Regions from separate parts of the Homo sapiens genome. Here all the other regions are linked to region 6. The links are contacts of gene promoters, found by promoter capture Hi-C in human tissues and cell types (Jung and others, 2019). All regions are on one chromosome and are shown on one strand. The core of a region is centred on a gene start or on the middle of the fragment in contact, and the rest is flanking DNA. Distances in the headings are between cores, read along the strand shown.

Region 1 (2,700 bases), core at 93-2,592, 510 kb before region 6:
GACTGAATTATTTAGAAAACTTGATTAGATGTGTAAGATGAGGCAAATAGATGGAAATTCATTGTAAATGCATTTCTTTCTGAAACTTTAAGGTTAGAGATCAGTTTGTATGTGTGCGCACACGTGTATATATTTTAAGAGACAAAGTCTTGCTCTGTTACCCAGGCTGGAGTGCAGTGGCACAATCATAGCTCACTGCAGCCTTGAACTTCTGGGTTCAAGTGATCCTCCCGAGTAGCTGGGACTATAGGCGTGTGCCACCATGCCCAACTTATTTTATTTTTTTGTAGAGACAGGGTCTTGCCTCGTTGCCTAGGCTGGTGTTCAACTGGCCTCAAACAATCCTCCTTCAATCTCTCAAAGTGTTGAGATTACAGGCATAAGCCACCACACCTGGCTTGTTTGGCTTTTATTTTTTAATTTTTTTGTGGTGCAACAGTTCTAAATATCACATGGCAGTTTTATATTCTGCAAGTAAGAGGTAACTTTTATTTTCCTTGTAATTCTCATCTGATGATTTGAATTGCTAGTCTTATACGGGTTTACCTTTAGATGTTCAGAATAAGTTGTGTGAGCATGATATGTTTGTATTTGTGGTATCATACCTTATCATGCCTTGTTTGGCTACATAGCATTACTTCCACTGCTTTCTTTGAGGAGTGATCAACAGTAGGCCATCTTCTGTGGGACAGCCCCTTACCTGCTAAGAAGTATAACTTTCTTTCAGATGTTGGAATTTTTGTGTTAAATCTTGATATTACTAATAACACTTTTCTCACCTTGAATAAAGAAGGGAACAGAGATGAGTACTAACATTCGGTAATACTTTCTCTGCAGAAACAAATCATTGTGGACCCCTTGAGCTTCAGCGAGGAGCGCTTTAGGCCTTCCCTGGAGGAGCGTCTGGAAAGCATCATTAGTGGGGCTGCCTTGATGGCCGACTCGTCCTGCACGCGTGATGACCGTCGTGAGCGAATTGTGGCAGAGTGTAATGCTGTCCGCCAGGCCCTGCAGGACCTGCTTTCGGAGTACATGGGCAATGTGAGTTTGACAGCTTTTCTTTGAAGTAAGATATTTATGGATGAGGAGTTTTCTATAACATGTTGGATCTGAGATGTTTTCACTATAAATACCAAATATGTCCTTGACTCCTTGATTTTTGGGAGTAGGTCAGATTTTTAAAGAAATGGATAAATGGCTAAGTGGCTCTTTCCTCTCTCCAGCTTATTGAGAAATTTTCAACTTATAAAAATCATACAGTGAATACCTAGGAAATTTATCTGTATTCATCAATTAACATGTAGATACATGTGTAGGTGTGTGTATATATAAATGTATATGTATGTATGGTATATACACAAACATCCTTTTTTCCCCCGAAGCCTTTGGAAGAAAGTTGTAGACATTGTGATGCTTCACCTCTAATATTTTAGCATGCCTCTCCAAAGAATAATGACCTTCTATACCACTAAAGTTTCATTATCCCAAGTAGGTGGCTAATTTTGGGCAAAAGGGAATGTTGAAAACCTGCCTCCTCAATATTTATAGTTGTGAAAGTTTTTTCGTGAACCATATTGAATGTCACAAGAGTAGATAATTGCCAAGTAGAGTTACATAAAGCAAACTCTGGATAGTGTTTTTGAATTTTGAAGGTTTGTGCATAAAAACCCAGGCTATGAAATTTGATACCCACTTTTTTTTTAAAAGGCCATAGAAAATTCTATATTTGTTGATTTTTCTCTGTTGCCATATGTCTTTCTTTTTTTCCTTCGCTTATACTTCTTCTATTCTGGTTATTTAATGCTAGCTTAGGGTTCCTGTCATTTAGACCTTGGACCCAATATTTTACTGTAGCTAATTAGCAATAAATTAAGTAAAAATTATATGAAATCATTTTAAGGGGAAGAAGGACAACAACACAAATTAGTTGTCATCACTAGCGTTTTTTACCTGTTTAACACCTAAAAAAAAGATCTTGGTTCTTTCTCATTTGTTCGTTTGCCATACATCTTGTCTGTTCACTTACAGGCCTGTAAAAGTTAATGGGTGATGGTAAATCATGGTGGAATTCCTAGGGTGAAGATGAATGCCTTCCTCTGTTTATCTTGTCTCTACCATACTGTGAAATTAGTGATGCATATTGAATTTTTTTAAAGCCATTGCCCCCTGGGCATGATGGTTCAAGCCTGTAGTCCCAGCGTTTTGGGAGGCTGAGGTGGGTGGATTGCGTGAGCCCAAGAGTTTGAGACCATCTTGGGCAACATGGTGAAATCCCATCTCTACAAAAAATACAAAAGTTAACTGGGCATGGTGGCGCACGCCTGGTCTCAGCTACTCGGGAGGCTGAGGCGGAAGAATCGCTTAAGCCTGGGAGGTTGTGGCTACAGTGAACCATGGTCGCGCCACTGTGCTCCAGCCTGGGCGACAGAGCGAGAGTGTCTCAAAAAAAAAAGCCATGTTTTGATTATAGGCAGTCTACTTAAGAAAAATGAGATTAGAGGTTTTGTTAAATCAAATGGAAAAAGTGGTTTTTAAGTCACAGTGAAAATGTGGGACACATTTAAAAATCCATAGCTAAGATTGAACATTAGAAAATATTTTAAAAGATGGATATGTTGCAGAATGGCTCACAATGTTGCAGTCTTAAACAGGGGAACAAAAACTCATGGTAAGTGGATCAGTCATCTGCTATCATGGGTA
Region 2 (2,700 bases), core at 83-2,582, 850 kb before region 6:
GTGAGCTATTTATGATTGAGCTTAGCCAAGGGGCAAGGTGTGAGGGGAGCTCCTGTAGGCTGCTACAGAATTTGCAGGAACCCCAGGCCTCTGCTTGGGTAGGGCTTTTATTCTCTTCTGTGTGCAGGGTCCTTGATTCTTTTTTTTTTGAGACGGAGTCTCACTGTGTCACCCAGGCTGGAGTGCAGTGGTCTGATCTTGGCTCACTGCAACCTCCGCCTCCCGGTTTCAAGCAATTCTCCTGCCTCAGCCTCCCGAGTAGCTGGGATTACAGGAATGCGCCACCATGTCCGGCTAATTTTTTTGTATTTTTAGTAGAGAAGGGGTTTCACCATATTGGCCAGGCTGCTCTTGAACTCCTGACCTTGCGATCCTCCCGCCTCGGCTTCCCAAAGTGCTGGGATTACAGGCGCGAGCCACTGCGCCCGTGTGGGGGCCTTGATTCTTTGAAAGCCCTATGAAACAGTAAGGGTCCTGGGCTATTCCCTGCCTTAAGAGAGGACCTATGCTCTAGTGGTCCTGGGGCTGGCTTTCGGGCCTGTTAGGAATACTGGAGCCTGGGATTGATAATCTTTCAACAACTGCCAATGTGACACCCAATAATACCACAGCCGCCTGTTATTTCCTGCATTTTTTTCTCATTGTTTTCCTGTGCTTGCTTCCTCCACAAAATGAGATTTCCAGACAGAAACCAAACCTTCTCAAGCTGGGCGCGGTGGCTCACGCCTGTAATCCCAGCACTTTGGGAGGCCGAGGCGGGCGGATCACAAGGTCAGAAGATCGAGACCATCCTGGCTAACACGGTGAAACCCTGTCTCTAAAAAAAATACAAAAATTAGCCTGGGTGACAGAGCAAGACTCCGTCTAAAAAAGAAACAAGAAACCAAACCTTCTCTTGCCAGTGGATTGGGTGCCACTTTTGTCTCCCGGCCCCACAAAACCCTCTGTGCTTTTAACCACCAAACCAGGGCTTTTTTTTTTTCTTTTTTCTTTTTTTTTGAGATGGAGTTTCGCTCTTGTTGCCCAGGCTGGAGTGCCGTGGCGCCATCTTGGCTCACTGCAACCTCCGCCTCCTGGGTTCAACAATTCACCTGCCTCAGCCTCCCAAGTAGCTGGGATTACAGGCGTCCGCTACCACCCCCGGCTAATTTTTAAATTTTTTTTAGTAGAGATGGGGTTTCACCATGTTGGCCAGGCTGGTCTAGAACTCCTGACCTCAGGTGATCTTCCCACCTCGGCCTCTCAAAGTGCTGGGATTACAGGCGTGAGCCACGGCACCCGGCCCATGGCATTTTTTCTTTGGCTGGGTTTGCCACTAGATTGAGCGCTCTTTATTGACACGGACTGTGTCTGCCTTGTTGACTACAGGTCCTCAAAAAACGTCATTTTATTCAGTTCAACGTCCTTTCCTTATAACATTGATGAGAAAAAAAATCAGTTTTCAGCTGGAGTTGTTTGGGTGGAGTTGGTACGTTCTCCCCGTGTCTGCATGGGCTTTCTCTGGGAACTCTGGTCTCCTTACACATCTCAAAGATGTACTCATTAGATGAATCAGCATGTCTAAATGGTCGCTGGATGAATGAGTGTGGGTGTGTTTGTGAGTGTGCCCTGCCGTGGAATGGCATCTTGTCTAGGGTTGGTGTTTTCCTTGTGCCCTGAAAGCTACTGGGATGGGCTCCTGCCACCTGAGACCCGCAACTGGAAGAAGTGGGGTGGAAAATGAATGAATGAATACAAATTATTGTCAAATAAAAATCTGTAAATATCCAATAATCATATGGTGCACAATGACAAACAATGCCATATGAAAGTGCTCAGCAAGCCTTCCATATTTGTGATTGTTTTTGAACTCAGGCAGGTGAAGCAGTAGGAGGTGCTCCTTGCAATTTTTGTTTTGCAAACATTTATTTCTTCATGTAACCCACCACCACAACATCCCTGATTCACCAAAAATTGAGTAAATAATCCTTGTTTTGTTTTTTTTTTTTGAGACAGTTTCGCTCTTGTTGCCCAGGCTGGAGTGCAATGGAGTGATCTTGGCTCACCACAACCTACGCCTCCCAGGTTCAAGCAATTCTCCTGCCTCAGCCTCCCGAATAGCTGGGATTACAGGCATGCGCCACCATGCCCAGCTAATTTTGTATTTTTAGTAGAGACGGGGTTTCTCCATGTTGGCCAGGCTGGTCTCGAACTCCCGACCTCAGGTGATCCACCCGCCTCGGCCTCCCAAAGTGCTGGGATTACAGGCATAAGCCACCACGCCTGGCCAATCCTTGTTCTTATGAATCTTTCTTAAATGTGTATATAGCTAACATTTTATTTATTTATTTATTTATTTTTTGAGATGGAGTCTTGCTCTGTCACCCAGGCTGGAGTGCAGTGGCACGATCTCGGCTCACTGCAAGCTCCGCCTCCTGGGTTCATGCCATTCTCCTGCCTCAGCCTCTGGAGTAGCTGGGACTACAGGTGCCTGCCACCACGCCTGGCTAATTTTTTGTATTTTTAGTAGAGACGGGGTTTCACCATGTTGGGCAGAATGGTCTCGATCTCTTGACCTTGTGATCTGCCCGCCTCGGCCTCCCCAAGTGCTTGGATTACAGGCATGAGCCACTGCACCCGGCCAGCTCACATTTATTTCATTTTGAGACAGTCTTGCTCTGTCACCCAGGCTGGAGTGCAGGTGTGGTCTCAGCTCACTGC
Region 3 (2,700 bases), core at 1-2,500, 560 kb before region 6:
CGGCTCATTGCAACCTCTGCCTCCCAGGTTCCAGCGATTCTCCTGGCTCAGCCTCATGAGTAGCTGCGATCACAAGCAACCGCCACTACGCCTGGCTAATTTTTGTATTTTTAGTAGAGAGAGGGTTTCACCACATTGGCCAGGCTGGTCTCGAACTCCTGACCTCAGGTGATCCACCCACTTTGGCCTCCCTAAGTGCTGGAATTACAAGCATGAACCACCATGCCTGGCCAGTTTTCACCCAGTAGTTTTGACATTCATTGCTAATCCTTGGCTGGATCAGTTTTTACCAGTGGGGGTTGCAAGATGGTCATTTTCTAATTCTATTCTAGATTCATGGTAAAGAAATTCCCTCCCCATACCCTTTCTTTTGAGGATCCCTATGGTCTTAAGGATATTTATTTAATTATTTAGTTACAGACAGTTACAGTCATTATTCTCTTTGATAGTTGTCCTAAATTTGGCTGATGGGAGCCCTTGCTTCCTGTGTCTTTTGATATGATCTTGTTAGTCTTGTCCCCTTTCCGCACAATACAGTGCTTCAGACCTGGAACTTTGGTTTCTATTAATGGGAAATGGTCCGTTTTTTAAAAAAAAAATAAGTAGAAATGGGATCTCTCTGTGTGGCCCAGGCTGGTCTCAAACTCCTGGGCTTAAGTGATCCTCCTGCCTTGGCCTTCCAAAGTGCTGGTATCACAGGCATGAACCACCATGCAAATGGTATTTAATAGAAATAAATACTTGGGCACTGATAACACTGGTTTTTTTTTGTTTTTGTTTTTTTTTTGAGACAAGAGCTTGCTCTGTTGCCCAGGCTGGAGTGCAGTGGTGCGATCTTGGCTCACTGCAACCTCCACCTCCCAGGTTCAAGTGGTTTTCCTGCCTCAGCCTCCTGAGCAGCTGGGATTACGGGCGTGTACCACCACACTGGACTAATTTTTGTAGTTTTAATAGAGACGGGGTTTCACTATGTTGGCCAGGCTGGTTGTTTTGTTTTTTAATTTGCCAACATTGTTTTTAAGAGTAACATTGTAGCCCGTTGTGTCATTGTTACATAATTTATTGAGTGATCTGTTGTTTGAAATTTAGGTAATTTATAACTTTTAATGTTTATATAAAGCAGTGTTGTGAACATCATTGTATCCCAGTTTTTACATGTTCCTTAACTTTAGAATAAGATTTTAGCAGTAGATTTTCTGGGTCATACAAATGTACTTTTTAAAGATTTTATTTTATTTATTTATTTTATTTTTTATTTTTTTGAGACGGAGTCTTGCTCTTTCGCCCAGGCCGGACTGCAGTGGCGCTATCTCTGCTACTGCAAGCTCCGTCTCTGGGGTTCACGCCATTTTCCTGCCTCAGCCTCCCGAGTAGCTGGGACTACAGGTGCCCGCCACTGCGCCTGGCTAATTTTTTTTTTGTATTTTTAGTAGAGACTGGGTTTCACCGTGTTAGGCAGGATGGTCTCAATCTCCTGACCTCATGATCTGCCCGCCTCAGCCTCCCAAAGTGCTGGGATTACAGGCGTGAGCCACTGCGCCTGGCCAAGATTTTATTTTTTTAATTTTTATTATTATTATTATTTTTTAAGATGGAGTTTTTTTCTTGTTGCCCAGGCTGGAGTGCAATGGCACAATCTCGGCTCACTGCAGCCTCTGCCTCCCGGGTTCAAGCGATTCTTCTGCCTCAGCCTCCCGAGTAGCTGGGATTACAGGCGTGCACCACCAGCCTGGCTAATTTTGTATTTTTAGTAGAGACAGGGTTTATCCTTGTTGGTCAGGCTGGTGTCGAACTCCCGACCTCAGGTGATCTGCCCGCCTTGGCTTCCCAAAGTGCTGGGATTACAGGAGTGAGCCACCACGCCCAGCCTTTAAGCTTTTAAATGTCTACCAGCAGTTTGTTGTCTAGAAAGTTTATATTAGTGTTTACCTCAGCTTCATGCCTTTTCTTTTCTTTTTTTCTTTAATAATTGAAGGCACTACTTTTAGAAGAAAAGACTAACTGTTATTTTCGTTGATGTTTTCTCCCTATTCTTAAAGCCGCTGTCTGACAGAAGTTTCTCTTGACACTGATACAGTGATATTTGACTAAGTGTGATTTGAAATTTCTTCTGGCTATGAGTGATAATAGCTGTGGGTGCAGAGGGCAGCTGATTTAAACATTATGTTTTAATAGAATAAGACAAGTCCTTCTCTAGGAATCCATCAAAAAATGAAGTGAAGCATACCTTTTAGATACTACTGTACCATGAATGTTGTGGAGTAGGAAAAATCAGGATCTTCTGTATTCGTTTTTGAAGCAGTGTCTTTGAAAGTAGCTTTTGGCCGGGTGCGGTGGCTCACGCCTATAATCCCAGCACTTTGGGAGGCCGAGGCAGGTGGATCATGAGGTCAGGAGATCGAGACCATCATATCCTGGCTAACACGGTGAAACCCCGTCTCTACTAAAAATGCAAAAAAATTAGCCGGGCGTGGTGGCGGGCCCCTGTAGTCACAGCCACTTGGGAGGCTGAGGCCAGAGAATGGCGTGAACCCAGGAGGCGGAGCTTGCAGTGAGCTGAGATCCACCACTGCCCTCCAGCCTGGGCGAAAGAGCAAGACTCTGTCTCAAAAAAAAAAAAAAAAAGAAAGTAGCTTTCATTCACTTTAGCTTTTCATCTTGTTTCTAAAGGTGGGGCAGATAAAGTGAGTAGGAACTGAG
Region 4 (2,700 bases), core at 135-2,634, 540 kb before region 6:
ATTAAGCTCTGTCGATATTTTGGTATGTGTTGGTTGTAGTGTTTACCATCCCATCCCTTTCCCAGGACATAAACACATTGTGATCTCCATTCTCACTGTGCAGTACAGATTGTTATATATCTGCTATTTAAAGTGGAAATGAAAATCATTTCCATTAATGAAGATACCTGGGTGGGGGCAGATTGTATAATTTATCGAAGATAAGCTGTGTTTCTCTACTGGGCTGGCAAAAATATTTTTTCTGGACCTTAAAGGTAGAAAGGTTCTGGTGAAGAAGCTATTTAAAAGTATCCTTAGTATTATTTTGGGGAAGGAGATATAACTTTGCCCTATTTATTGAGGTTTTTGGAGGACTTTTACAGGCAGTAGAGATGTTTCCATAGCTGGATTTCTGAGCCATTACGTTGTGGTTGGGAACCTTTCTTTTGTAGTATACTGTAGAATTTTGGGATGTGACACTGTAAATGGGATAGATGAGGAAGATGACCAGTTCCTGAGAACTGGAAGGAATCCCAGCTTGACTTGAGAACTTCTTTAAAACAAAATGAAACAAAACAAAACAAAAAAACTGCTAAAAAAAAAATTTAAAAAAAGCAGTTGGAAAAACGTAAGGCACAGCAAGCTTTGGTTGTAGCTATTAGCACAAAAGGAACAATTATTACTACTTTCTGCACTATAGACAGTGGAGTGAAGGAAGCTCCCCTCATCCTTTACAGCTTCAGCATTTAAAATTAAAAGCTAACATTTCCTCTGTCCTTTAGGAAACTTGGTATCATGACTTTATTTCTAAAAAGGTAAGAAACAGCTGGTGTGTGGATAATGACATGTTCTAAATAGGTTTAAAAACTGGAAAAAGTAGATGGAAAAATAGAAGGGGGCACAGAAGTATTTGTTGAGCTTTGCATATATTATTTCATTTAATTTTCAAAACAACTGAGTAAGGTATGGGAGATGTGTACTCATTTTACAGAAAAGAAAACAGCTAGAGATAAAACAACCCAAAGTAACACAGCTGCCAAATATCGAAGCTGGATTTAGACCCAGTTCCAATACCTTATTTCATCTACACCAAGTAGTGTTCTGGGAGAGAAGTAGTTATATTCATTAACATTACTTCATAGCATTCTTTGTTTTAAAGGAGCAATGTAACAGGTTCAGGTTAAAACAAACAAGCCTTTTGTTTTTTTTATCCATCACCCAAATATTTTCCAAGCCTATCCTTTCCCCGTAACTTTATAAAGTTTGGTTGCTTTCAGGGGAATTTACTCATGATATTTGATGCTTCAAAAACTTCTTGATTTTGTCTTCTCCTAATAAAGAATTGTGGGTTTTTTTGTTTGTTTGTTTACTTTATAATTGCCCATTGTCTTTGTTTTAAACTCCAGAGGAACTTATTTTATTCCCAGCTCAGGAGAGAACATCAGGGGATGACAGATTTTATTTCATGGCAGATGGTACAGTAGTATTGAGCTCTCTTAAGTTTCATCTCCTTTGTTAGTAGATGTAGTGTAGTTGACTGGAAACAGCTGGGACAAAGTCAGGTTTTACAACCGTGCGATCTTGGATATAGTTCCTGTCTACCTCAGTTTCCCCAGTTTGCCCTTTTGTGTGCAGAGAGCACTTTTGATATCTTATAAATTTAAACTAACAGGTATCTTTTTAAATTTTTAATTTTTTTTATTAAAAAAAATTTTTTTTGAGATGGAGTCTTACTCTGTCACCCAGGCCACTGTGCCTGGCTAATTTTTGTATTATTATTTTTTAGTAGTTCTGGTCTTGAACCTCTGATCTCAAGTAATCCCCTACCCTCAGCCTCCCAAAGTGCTGAGCCATCGTGCCCAGCCTTCTGCCACATTTTGTTTTTTTAGACAGAGTTTCGCTCTTGTTGCCCAGGCTGGAGTGCAATGGCGTGACCTCGGTTCACTGCAACCTCTGCCTTCCGGGTTCAGGCAATTCTCCTGCCTCTGCCTCCTGAGTAGGTGGGATTACAGGCATGTGCCACCACGCCTGGCTAATTTTGTACTTTTAGTAGAGATGGGGTTTTGCCATGTTGGTCAGACTGGTCTCGAACTCCTGACTTCAGGTGATCCACCCACCTCGGCCTTCCAAAGTGCTGGGATTACAGGCGTGACCACCATACCTGGCCATCTTTTTTTATTTTTAGAGTTCTTTTAAGAGACATGAGAGATGGAGGAAAAAAAAGTTGTTGATTCCTTTTTACAATTTTTTTAAGCAAGGTTTTGAGCATGGGTTCTTTTTACATTTAATTTTGAAATGAAACTTATTAAACATCTCAAGTTAGTCTTAGTGTCATTTTTTTTTTTTTTGTAAGGATGACCATTCAGAAGTTTGAGGACCTCATTTTTAGCTGGGGGCTTATTTATATACTTGTTTATAGTTTTGCTGATGGAGAAAGTGTGAATATTTTAACCCATTATACAGTGTGTTTCTGATGTATTTTTTCATTACTAATACTTTATGTTAGCCATGAAATTAAGGATTTGTCATTAGGGCTGTGAGCTAAAATAAATTAGAGTAGATGTAGATGTATGTATGTATGTATGTATGTATGTATGTATGTGTGTGTGTATGTGTGTATTTAGAGACAGAGTCTTGCTCTGTCGCCCAGTCTGGAGTGCAGTGGTGCCATCTCGGCTCACTGCAACCTCTGCCTCCTGGGTTCAATCGATTCTCGTGTCT
Region 5 (2,700 bases), core at 91-2,590, 950 kb before region 6:
TACAATGGCTGATCTAAAATAAAGACAGAGCCAACAGGAAACTTCTTGCCCTAAAAACTGGCTTGACATGAGTTTCTCATCACCTTTTTATAAGAAAAGGATTTGGAATTTAATCATTTGAAGGAAAATGAAAGACTATCCAAATTATTTTTCATTCATGTGTGTATTTATTTTTAAAGGGTAACTTTAGGAGTGAAACATGAGCTACCCATGCTAGTTCCTTGCAGTCATGCAGGTATCAAGGCTCCTGGCCAAATCCTGCCTGTGAAGCAACAGCAGCACCTCAGGGCTGTGTCTGTTCTTTTTCTCTATTGTAGGGAGTAAGTTGAAGTCAATACTTACTGGTTAGTAGGAAGATAAAAGAAAAAAGAAAAGGAGTTTTATTTTTTAACTCTAAAATACCCTGAAGTAGTCTCTGTAGCAGAGACAGAGGCAAGCCTAGGTGGCCTGCTTGATTCGTACGTCTCTATGCTACTCCTCAAGGAAATCCTGAATGTTAACTCCTCTTGTGTATTTAAAGAATAGTTTAATTAAAACTCTCTCCCCTCTTTATAAGAGAATAGCCCTTTTGTTTATCGGGAATCACTTTTTTTTTAATTGTAGTAAAATACACATAATGTAAAACTTACGACTTTAAAATGTACAATTCTGTGGCATTTAGTACATTTACAGTGTTGCGAAACTATGAAGACTATCTAGATCCAGAAATTTCATCACCCCAAAAGGAAAACTCCATATCCATTAAGTGGTGATGGAATAATTTTTATTTCCAGTGTTTTAGAGTGAATATTAAGGTATATCATCCTCTACTACTTGAAAGTAATCTATGGTTAGCAAGTCAAGTACTAGGATCTGGGTTTTATTAAATTAATAAATATAAGTTTGGGCTCATACCTACCTATGGGTCTCTTCTCTCTCTCTCTCTCTCTCTGTGTGTGTGTGTGTGTGTGTGTGTGTGTGTCCCTTTCTCTTGTCTGTATCTGGGTACATTAATATATAGGAAAGTCCTTCCTTTTTTTTGTTTTTGTGAGGGAATCTTGCTCTGTTGCCAGGCTGGAGTGCAGTGGCACGATCTGGGCTCACTGCAACCTCCGCCTCCTGGGTTCAAGCAATTCTCCTGCCTCAGCCTTCCGAGTAGCTGGGACTACAGGCACGTGCCACCATGCCCGGCTCATTTTTTGTATTTTTAGTAGAGACAGGGTTTCACCGTGTTGGCCAGGATGGTCTTGACCTCCAGACCTCGTGATCCGCCCATGTCAGCCTCCCAAAGTACTGGGATTACAGGCATGAGCCACCGCGCCAGGCCCCATTCTTCTTTATACAGTCATTCACAAGCAGAAGTTAACATTTTGAAGGTAAAAGAAGGAAAGGGGAGTGTTCTGTTATTTCATTCTTCAGTTATGCTGAAGGCTTTTTTTGGGATATTGTCAGTATATACATTTATCCTCTTTGGATTCTTATTAGATTCTAATTATAACAAAGGTCTTGGTAAATAGCTTGCTTTCTTTAATTTAGCATCTTTACGTCTAACGTTAATTGAAGTAGATATTCAACTTGTAGGTTGACTTGAACCCATAAATAGATGCCGAAATCCAAAAGGGTCCATGTTGTGGACTTTCAGATTAATAAGGAAAACACTTTTCTTTAACGTGCAGTAGGCTTGTCCTAGGATTAAAGCCACTTTTTGTAAAATGGGCAATTTTACAGTAGCCTAAATAAATCAAAACTTTAACAATAGCTCCCAAGGTCATTGAGATATATTAATATTACAGGGGTCACTGTAAAAGCTGATGTCTATTCAGGAACCCTTTTCTCCAGTTCCTTAGAGGAGCTCTTCACTTCCAAATAGATACCAAAAAGCCTACAAGGCCTTCTAGCACTGTGACGACCAATTGGATAACAACCAAGGGAATTGCAGGATGAATGACATCCTGCTATCTCTGGTTCACCTTGCTAAAGATGCCCTCAGTGTAGTCTGTGGCAGATTTCTTCCCCACTGCTGGTGAACTCCAGTTACAAGAGCAGATCCATGGAATTGTAAAAGAGAAAAGTTGATGGACCCCCAAGAAATGTTGATCTGGTGATAGTGAGGTCCAAGAAAGAGATCATTAGATTGTCATGAGAAGCCAGCATCACTAATTCAGGCTATCTTCCTTTCAGAATTCAAGAAATTCTATTCTGGCCTCTTCTGGATTTGGAGCACCTCTCCCTAGTTCATCGCAACCTTTGACTTTTGGAAGTGGAAGGAGCCAGTCCAATGGTGTTCTAGCCACAGAGAACAAACCTTTGGGCTTCTCTTTTGGCTGTAGCTCTGCACAAGAGGCACAGAAAGACACTGATCTCTCCAAAAACTTGTTTTTTCAATGCATGTCCCAAACTTTACCTACCAGTAACTACTTCACTACTGTTTCAGAGAGTTTGGCTGATGATTCTTCTAGTCGGGACTCATTCAAACAAAGCCTTGAGAGCCTGAGCTCAGGCCTGTGTAAAGGCAGATCCGTTCTTGGAACAGACACTAAGCCAGGCTCTAAGGCTGGCAGCTCTGTGGACCGGAAAGTGCCTGCAGAGTCCATGCCCACCCTCACTCCAGCCTTCCCACGGAGCCTCCTAAATGCCCGTACCCCAGAGAATCATGAAAATCTATTTTTACAGCCCCCCAAATTGTCCCGAGAAGAGCCTTCTAATCCTTTCCTGGCATTT
Region 6 (2,700 bases), core at 109-2,608:
ACCCGGTTTCTAAATTCAAGCCTTCCCATGGAGGGAATTTTTTGTCTTAGTAAATACTACAAGCATATAGTTTTTAAAAGATTCAAATTTTTCAGGAGAAAAGGATAGTTATTTGCACCCATTTCCTAGTCGGTCATTTGCCCTCTCCAAAGGGAAGAAATTAGTTTGTGTCCCTTTTTCAAAGATAGTATCTACACATTTGAACATCCAGATTTGTAAAACACATACTCTCGGCCGGGTGCGGTGGCTCACACCTGTAATCCTAGCACTTTGAGAGGCGGAGGCGGGTGGATCACGAGGTCAGGAGATCGAGACCATCCTGGCCAACACGGTGAAACCCCTATCTCTACTAAAAGTACAAAAATTGGCCGGGTGTGCTGGCGTGCGCCTGTAGTCCCAGCTACTTGGGAGGCTGTGGCAGGAGAATCTCTTGAACCCGGGAGGCGGAGGTTGCAGTGAGCCGAGATGGCGCCACTGCACTCCAGCCTGGGCAAGAGAGCCAGACTCCGCCTCAAAAAAACAAAACAAAACAAAAAAACAAAAACATACTCTCTTCTTTACATTGCTTAGTGTCACTAGAAATATATCTTGGGGCTTGTCAACGATGACAGGAAGGAAGCATGGGTAAGAATAACTATGGGGCCAGTGCACCCAGGATCACGGACTACAAAATTCTTGAACCCGGAGGTCACACTTTTCTATCCTGTGTGGACAGGGCATTTCCTCCTTTAGCCACAAAGAAGTTGCACATGTATTTGTATTTTGCGTTTGCATCCAGCTTCAAAAAGTGTGTTTTTGTGCCTGCACATGTCTGAGTGCGGATGTTTGCATATCATTTAGTACGCCTCTGTGATTTCCCTTAGTTTATTATTTTTCTGTGTCAGGATCTTGACGTGACTCGGTGCATGTCGCTGTTTGTGTGACATTGTGTATCATTCTTGGGGTGTGTATGGGTATGTGTGTGCTATGTCATTACCTAAATATTACGTTTTTGGGGGGGTGTGTGATGTCTGTGAAAGTCCACGCCTGTGTATCTTGTCAGGGTGCTCTTCAGTCCCCAGCTGCCTCACTCATTGCATATCATCATTCTCGGAAGATGGGCGGGTGTGGGAACAGTGGTACGCCCCCATTCCTGCCTTCCAGAGAGAACGTGCGACAGCGTTCCTGCTACACCCGGCAGCCGGCCGTAGGGGCGCGCTGGAAAGGCTGCTGCGCGTGCACACGTGTGCAGCCTTGGAGACAGACTTCGGGGTCGCGCGTTCTCGCGCGCGCTCTCTAGTGGCTTCGGAGGGCAGAGCTGACAGAACAAGAGGGCGGGGTTGGCGGCGACGGAAGTGAAGTCACTTCCGGGCTGGGGTGTTTGTTTGGACTGGAGAAGGGAGGCGGCGGGCGAAGCGCACGTCGAGCGGGGGAGCGGCGCTGCCTGTGGAGATCCGCGGAGGCCGACAGGATTCGTTGGCTGCCGTCCCCGCTGCTGTGCATTGGGTGAGGGGTCCTCTCGGGCAGAGTGGCGACAGGGGTGCGGAGGTCGAGGGACAGCAAGTCGGCGACGGCAGAGGGGCCTAAAGGGTTCCCTGGGTGGTTGGCCACCGAGTCCATTGCGGCCTCCGTTGTTCATTGCCTCTTTCCACCAAGTCTGAGGGATGAGCTTGGGCCGACTTCGTCTCTGTCTTCTCCGAGACATGGCCGTCGCTTTTTTTTCATTGTCATTATTAATGATTTGGATCTCGCAGCTCTCTATCCGGGTCCTCAGTGGCGCGAGGGTTGCCGGGATAGCACTTTCTCCTGTTCCTCATTCTCCCGGTCCTTTATCCCTCCGCCGGGTACCCTTTCCCCTGCCCCCCTCCCACCGCCTCGGCAACAAAGCTTATTGTTTCTACCCACTTTACGCCTGCGCGTCGCCACGCGCAGCCCCTACTTGCTGCGCGTGCGCGCCTCAGCCGAGGCTGGGGTTTGGGGAGAGAGGGGCGGAGGGACTGGCGGGCTCTTGGCGTCTTGGGGGAACGCTGCAACCGTCGACGGGCCTGATCAGAAGATCGTCTTTCTCCCGTTTCTTCGCCATCGCTACCCCTTATTTTTGGTTGTATTGCAGCTCATGCCCTGGAAAAAAGAACCTTTGGGGTACTGGGAACCCTTACCCTAGGAGGGCGTTGAGTTAGATGAACTTTAAGGTCCTCTTACCTTTTAATAATTTTCTGTGCTTACTCTCCTCCTTCCCCACCATCGCCACCAGAAATAAATAAGGCTTGTGGTGAACTTAGGTCTTCAAAACATTTGTTGCAGCAGCCAGCAGTGATATTTTTTAGGGACTCCTAAAAGGGGTCTTACCTGCTTCCTTTTGTTTCTTTTTTCCCTGATTTGGCACCCGTATCAACTCATAAAAACCCCAAACTCTAGAAAGAATTTGGCTTCCAATTTGCCTTGGAAGGTGTAGCAGCTGACAGCCTTTGACGTTTATTTCAACGGAAAGTAGATGTTCATGTTGGGTGTGCTGGCTAATGTTGAAACGTGGTGGCATTGTTTTTTCACAGATTTCATTAGCACAGTTAGATCAGGTGTTGGTTTATATTTTCATTAAGTCGCTTTTGAAATTTCTTCTGGCGTAGGTTGTGTTTGCAATAAGTAAAAGTTCTCTACAATAATTTTTAATGAGACTCCACTATTTGCTTTTGTGATTCTGTTTCCAGTTAGTGAAAGACA
Region 7 (2,700 bases), core at 195-2,694, 690 kb before region 6:
CCACTCAGAATTCTAGGAGCAGCTCCCCTCTCCATCTCTGGGCAGGACCTGGCTTTGAGTAAGGGCTAGAGTGAAGGAGACTGGGAGAGGGGAATAGCCAGCTTTAGCCTCACAGCCCCGTAGTCAAGGGGAGTCCTCTGGGAGGGCGAGAAGAATAGCAAAGCAGGGAATGGAAGGTTCAGGAAGAGGCAGGCGGGACAGGGAAGGGAAATGGAGAATGTGTTTCCAACATCCCCTGGGTTTCCTCTGTCCCTGTCTCCTTCCCCCACTGAAAGAGGAATGGAGCTGGCTGGCCTTTCTGGGAGGCATAGTCCTCTAGCCTCCCAACCCTACCAGCCTCCTCTCTGTCCCCAACTGCTCCTTCTCTGGCTTCTCTCCAGAGCCCAGGGCCTCCCTGTGTCATCAGTTCATTATCATTCTGATAAAAGTCATTAGTCCTTGAAAAAGCATGATTCCCCAGCTGAGGCCAGCCCCCGCTAACCTGGGGAGGAATACAGATGGATGGAGATGTGGGGGTGGGGACAGACAGAGGCACAAACACAATGACACTTGTTTCCAGGAGGTGTGTAAATGGACACAAACCCACTGGTGCACACGGCCACACACCTTTACACACAGGCCCAGGGATGTCTCACATGGTCACCAGAGAGCCCACAGGGCTACATCACTGGAGGCACACTCAGCTGCTTCCAGTCCCAGAGAATCACTCGACACTGAGACCCAGCACCCAGCAGCCTCAGCCTCCTGGAAACACAGAAGCTGGGCTCCGCAGACTCTGGGGGCGGGGGCAGGGAGTGGAATATGGAGGCCAAGGTTAGAGATCTCCGAGTTCCATTAGCCACAAGAAGCGTGTCCGGAATCTAAAAGTGCAGGGACAAGGGCGCTGCAGAGCCGGTTCCTGACAGTGTGTCCCCATTTCCCACCCCTTCCACCACTGGGAAGCTCCTCCCTGTCAGCAAAGCCATTTAGGGATTAGAGCAGCTCCCTCAGTAAAAGCTGCTTATTCAAAAGGTGCTTTCAGTTCATTTGCATTCACTTCATGGATATTATAATGCGTGGAGGAGCTTCCTCCTCAGTCCCTCTTTGCTGTCCCCAGATTGAGTCCCTGGCCCATGCAAGGTATCAGTTTGGGCTGGGCCAAGCTTTCCAGTGACCTGGGGATCTTGTCAGGGAGTGGGAGGTGATAAACACTGACCATTAACCCCTGGTCCTCAGAAGGCAGCTCCGGGGACAGCTAGGAGGGGTCACAACTGGAGTTTTCCCAAGGGAGAGGAAGGAGGCCAAGGTCTGGAGAGGCCTCTCAATTCCCCCGGGGTCATAAGCCTGGTCTCCTAGGGAAGGAGGAATCTGCCCAGCTGCTGTCTGCAGATGGGGCTGCCACAGGGGAGCAGGCAGAGTCAGCCTCAGCTTTGAAGACCTTCTCTTTGGCAGCCACCCCACCCCGGCTCCATGCATTCAGTTCATTCAAAGAGTATTTAACTAACACCATGATGTGTGAAGCTTGATGCTAAGTAACTGGAATACAGTGTTGACCAGGCAATGTGGCCCCTGCCTTCACAGAGCTTCCACTCCAGGAGTGAAAACCCACAAAAAATGAAGACACAAGACAATATGGAATAATATGAATTATACCTAGTACCATAACAAACAGGGCGCTAAGATAGAAAGTAATAGGTCAGGGCCGGGGGACCGTCTTCAGATGGGGTGATCAGTAAATGGTGGACACATAACACACCTGCAGTTGAGGCTTCAGGGAGCCAGCTTCGCACGACTGCACTCCAGCCGGGGCAACTCTGTCTCCTAAAAAAGAAAAAAAAAAAAAGGAAGAAAGAAAAATTTCTTTCTTTCTGTGTGTGTGTGTGTGTGTGTGTGGTTTTTTTTTTTTTTTTTGAGACAGAGTTTTGATCTGTCACTCAGGCTGGAATGCAGTGGCACAATCTCGGCTCACTGCAACCTCCTCCTCTGGGTTTTAGGAGATTCTCCTGCCTCAGCCTCCCAAGTAGCTGGGATTACAGGCATATGGCACCATGCCTCGATAATTTTTGTATTTTTAGTAGAGACAGGGTTTCACCAGGTGATCCGCCTGCCTCGGTCTCCCAAAGTGCTGGGATTACAGGCATGAGCCACAATGCCTGGCCAAGAATTTCTTTCTTGATTTGTCCTTTTATCACCTCAAAGGTGCATCATGGGATTTCCCATCCCAGCTCAGGGGAAAGGCATGGCTGTGCCTCTTCATCCCCAGATCAGCCTATGGCGAGGCTGCCGTCTTTTGGACACTCCAGTGAACGTGCCCACCTGCCTGCTCTGGCACATCTGACAAGGCTGGAAAGAAGTTGCCATTTTCGGGGAGGGGTCAGTTTCAATGCCTTCCCACCAATTGGTCCGGAGCATGTCCACAGTTCTGTACACTGGGGAGCATCCAGTTCAGGCTTGGCTGAGTCAGGCAGATCCAGAGCTGCCCACCCCTCTCCCCAGGCCAGGGCTCCAGAGACCCTAGAGCCATTTCCAGCTTCCCTGCTGCTCCTCTCACCATCAATCAGGGGCTGGGATGTCAGAATCAGGACTGGGGGAAGCCACTCACATCCTGAACCACCCCCCAGGGACATAGGAATATGAGGCGAGGATCCTGAGCTCGAACATTTACAGGTAGCATTCAGGATTGAAAACTGATTTATAGTCTGAAGGCAGGCAGGAGGGAGC

What was found. Contacts are between HindIII fragments. The study calls those that stand out against the background at their distance.
Region 1: a fragment that was not itself captured here is called in contact with the fragment with the promoter of PAIP2 in region 6 in 2 of the 25 tissues and cell types used here (IMR-90 fibroblasts and mesenchymal stem cells).
Region 2: a fragment that was not itself captured here is called in contact with the fragment with the promoter of PAIP2 in region 6 in 1 of the 25 tissues and cell types used here (aorta).
Region 3: a fragment that was not itself captured here is called in contact with the fragment with the promoter of PAIP2 in region 6 in 1 of the 25 tissues and cell types used here (bladder).
Region 4: a contact is called between a fragment that was not itself captured here and the fragment with the promoter of PAIP2 in region 6, in 2 of the 25 tissues and cell types used here (dorsolateral prefrontal cortex and hippocampus).
Region 5: a contact is called between a fragment that was not itself captured here and the fragment with the promoter of PAIP2 in region 6, in 1 of the 25 tissues and cell types used here (hippocampus).
Region 7: a fragment that was not itself captured here is called in contact with the fragment with the promoter of PAIP2 in region 6 in 1 of the 25 tissues and cell types used here (dorsolateral prefrontal cortex).

What each region holds. Positions count from the first base shown.
Region 1 is chr5:138,826,678-138,829,377 of GRCh38, forward strand. It overlaps CTNNA1 (catenin alpha 1), which reads left to right. Exons shown (of 18, transcript NM_001903.5): 7 at 838-1,041. Among named protein-coding and RNA genes, the nearest start is that of LRRTM2, 47 kb to the right of the region's middle. RefSeq lists an enhancer at 1,822-2,322. The HindIII fragment of the contact is 9,361 bases long and covers 1-2,700 here.
Region 2 is chr5:138,494,008-138,496,707 of GRCh38, forward strand. No RefSeq gene overlaps it. Among named protein-coding and RNA genes, the nearest start is that of EGR1, 30 kb to the left of the region's middle. The HindIII fragment of the contact is 6,051 bases long and covers 1-2,700 here.
Region 3 is chr5:138,778,947-138,781,646 of GRCh38, forward strand. All of the region lies in intron 1 of CTNNA1 (catenin alpha 1), which reads left to right. Among named protein-coding and RNA genes, the nearest start is that of CTNNA1-AS1, 26 kb to the left of the region's middle. The HindIII fragment of the contact is 5,060 bases long and covers 1-2,700 here.
Region 4 is chr5:138,797,313-138,800,012 of GRCh38, forward strand. The region is part of intron 3 of CTNNA1 (catenin alpha 1); the gene reads left to right. Among named protein-coding and RNA genes, the nearest start is that of CTNNA1-AS1, 45 kb to the left of the region's middle. The HindIII fragment of the contact is 5,540 bases long and covers 1-2,700 here.
Region 5 is chr5:138,388,853-138,391,552 of GRCh38, forward strand. It overlaps KDM3B (lysine demethylase 3B), which reads left to right. Exons shown (of 24, transcript NM_016604.4): 8 at 2,161-2,700. Among named protein-coding and RNA genes, the nearest start is that of KDM3B, 38 kb to the left of the region's middle. The HindIII fragment of the contact is 4,652 bases long and covers 1-2,700 here.
Region 6 is chr5:139,340,496-139,343,195 of GRCh38, forward strand. It overlaps PAIP2 (poly(A) binding protein interacting protein 2), which reads left to right and starts at 1,359. Exons shown (of 4, transcript NM_016480.5): 1 at 1,359-1,485. The HindIII fragment of the contact is 8,924 bases long and covers 1-2,700 here.
Region 7 is chr5:138,648,613-138,651,312 of GRCh38, forward strand. No RefSeq gene overlaps it. Among named protein-coding and RNA genes, the nearest start is that of HSPA9, 75 kb to the left of the region's middle. RefSeq lists an enhancer at 1,880-2,678. The HindIII fragment of the contact is 3,444 bases long and covers 1-2,700 here.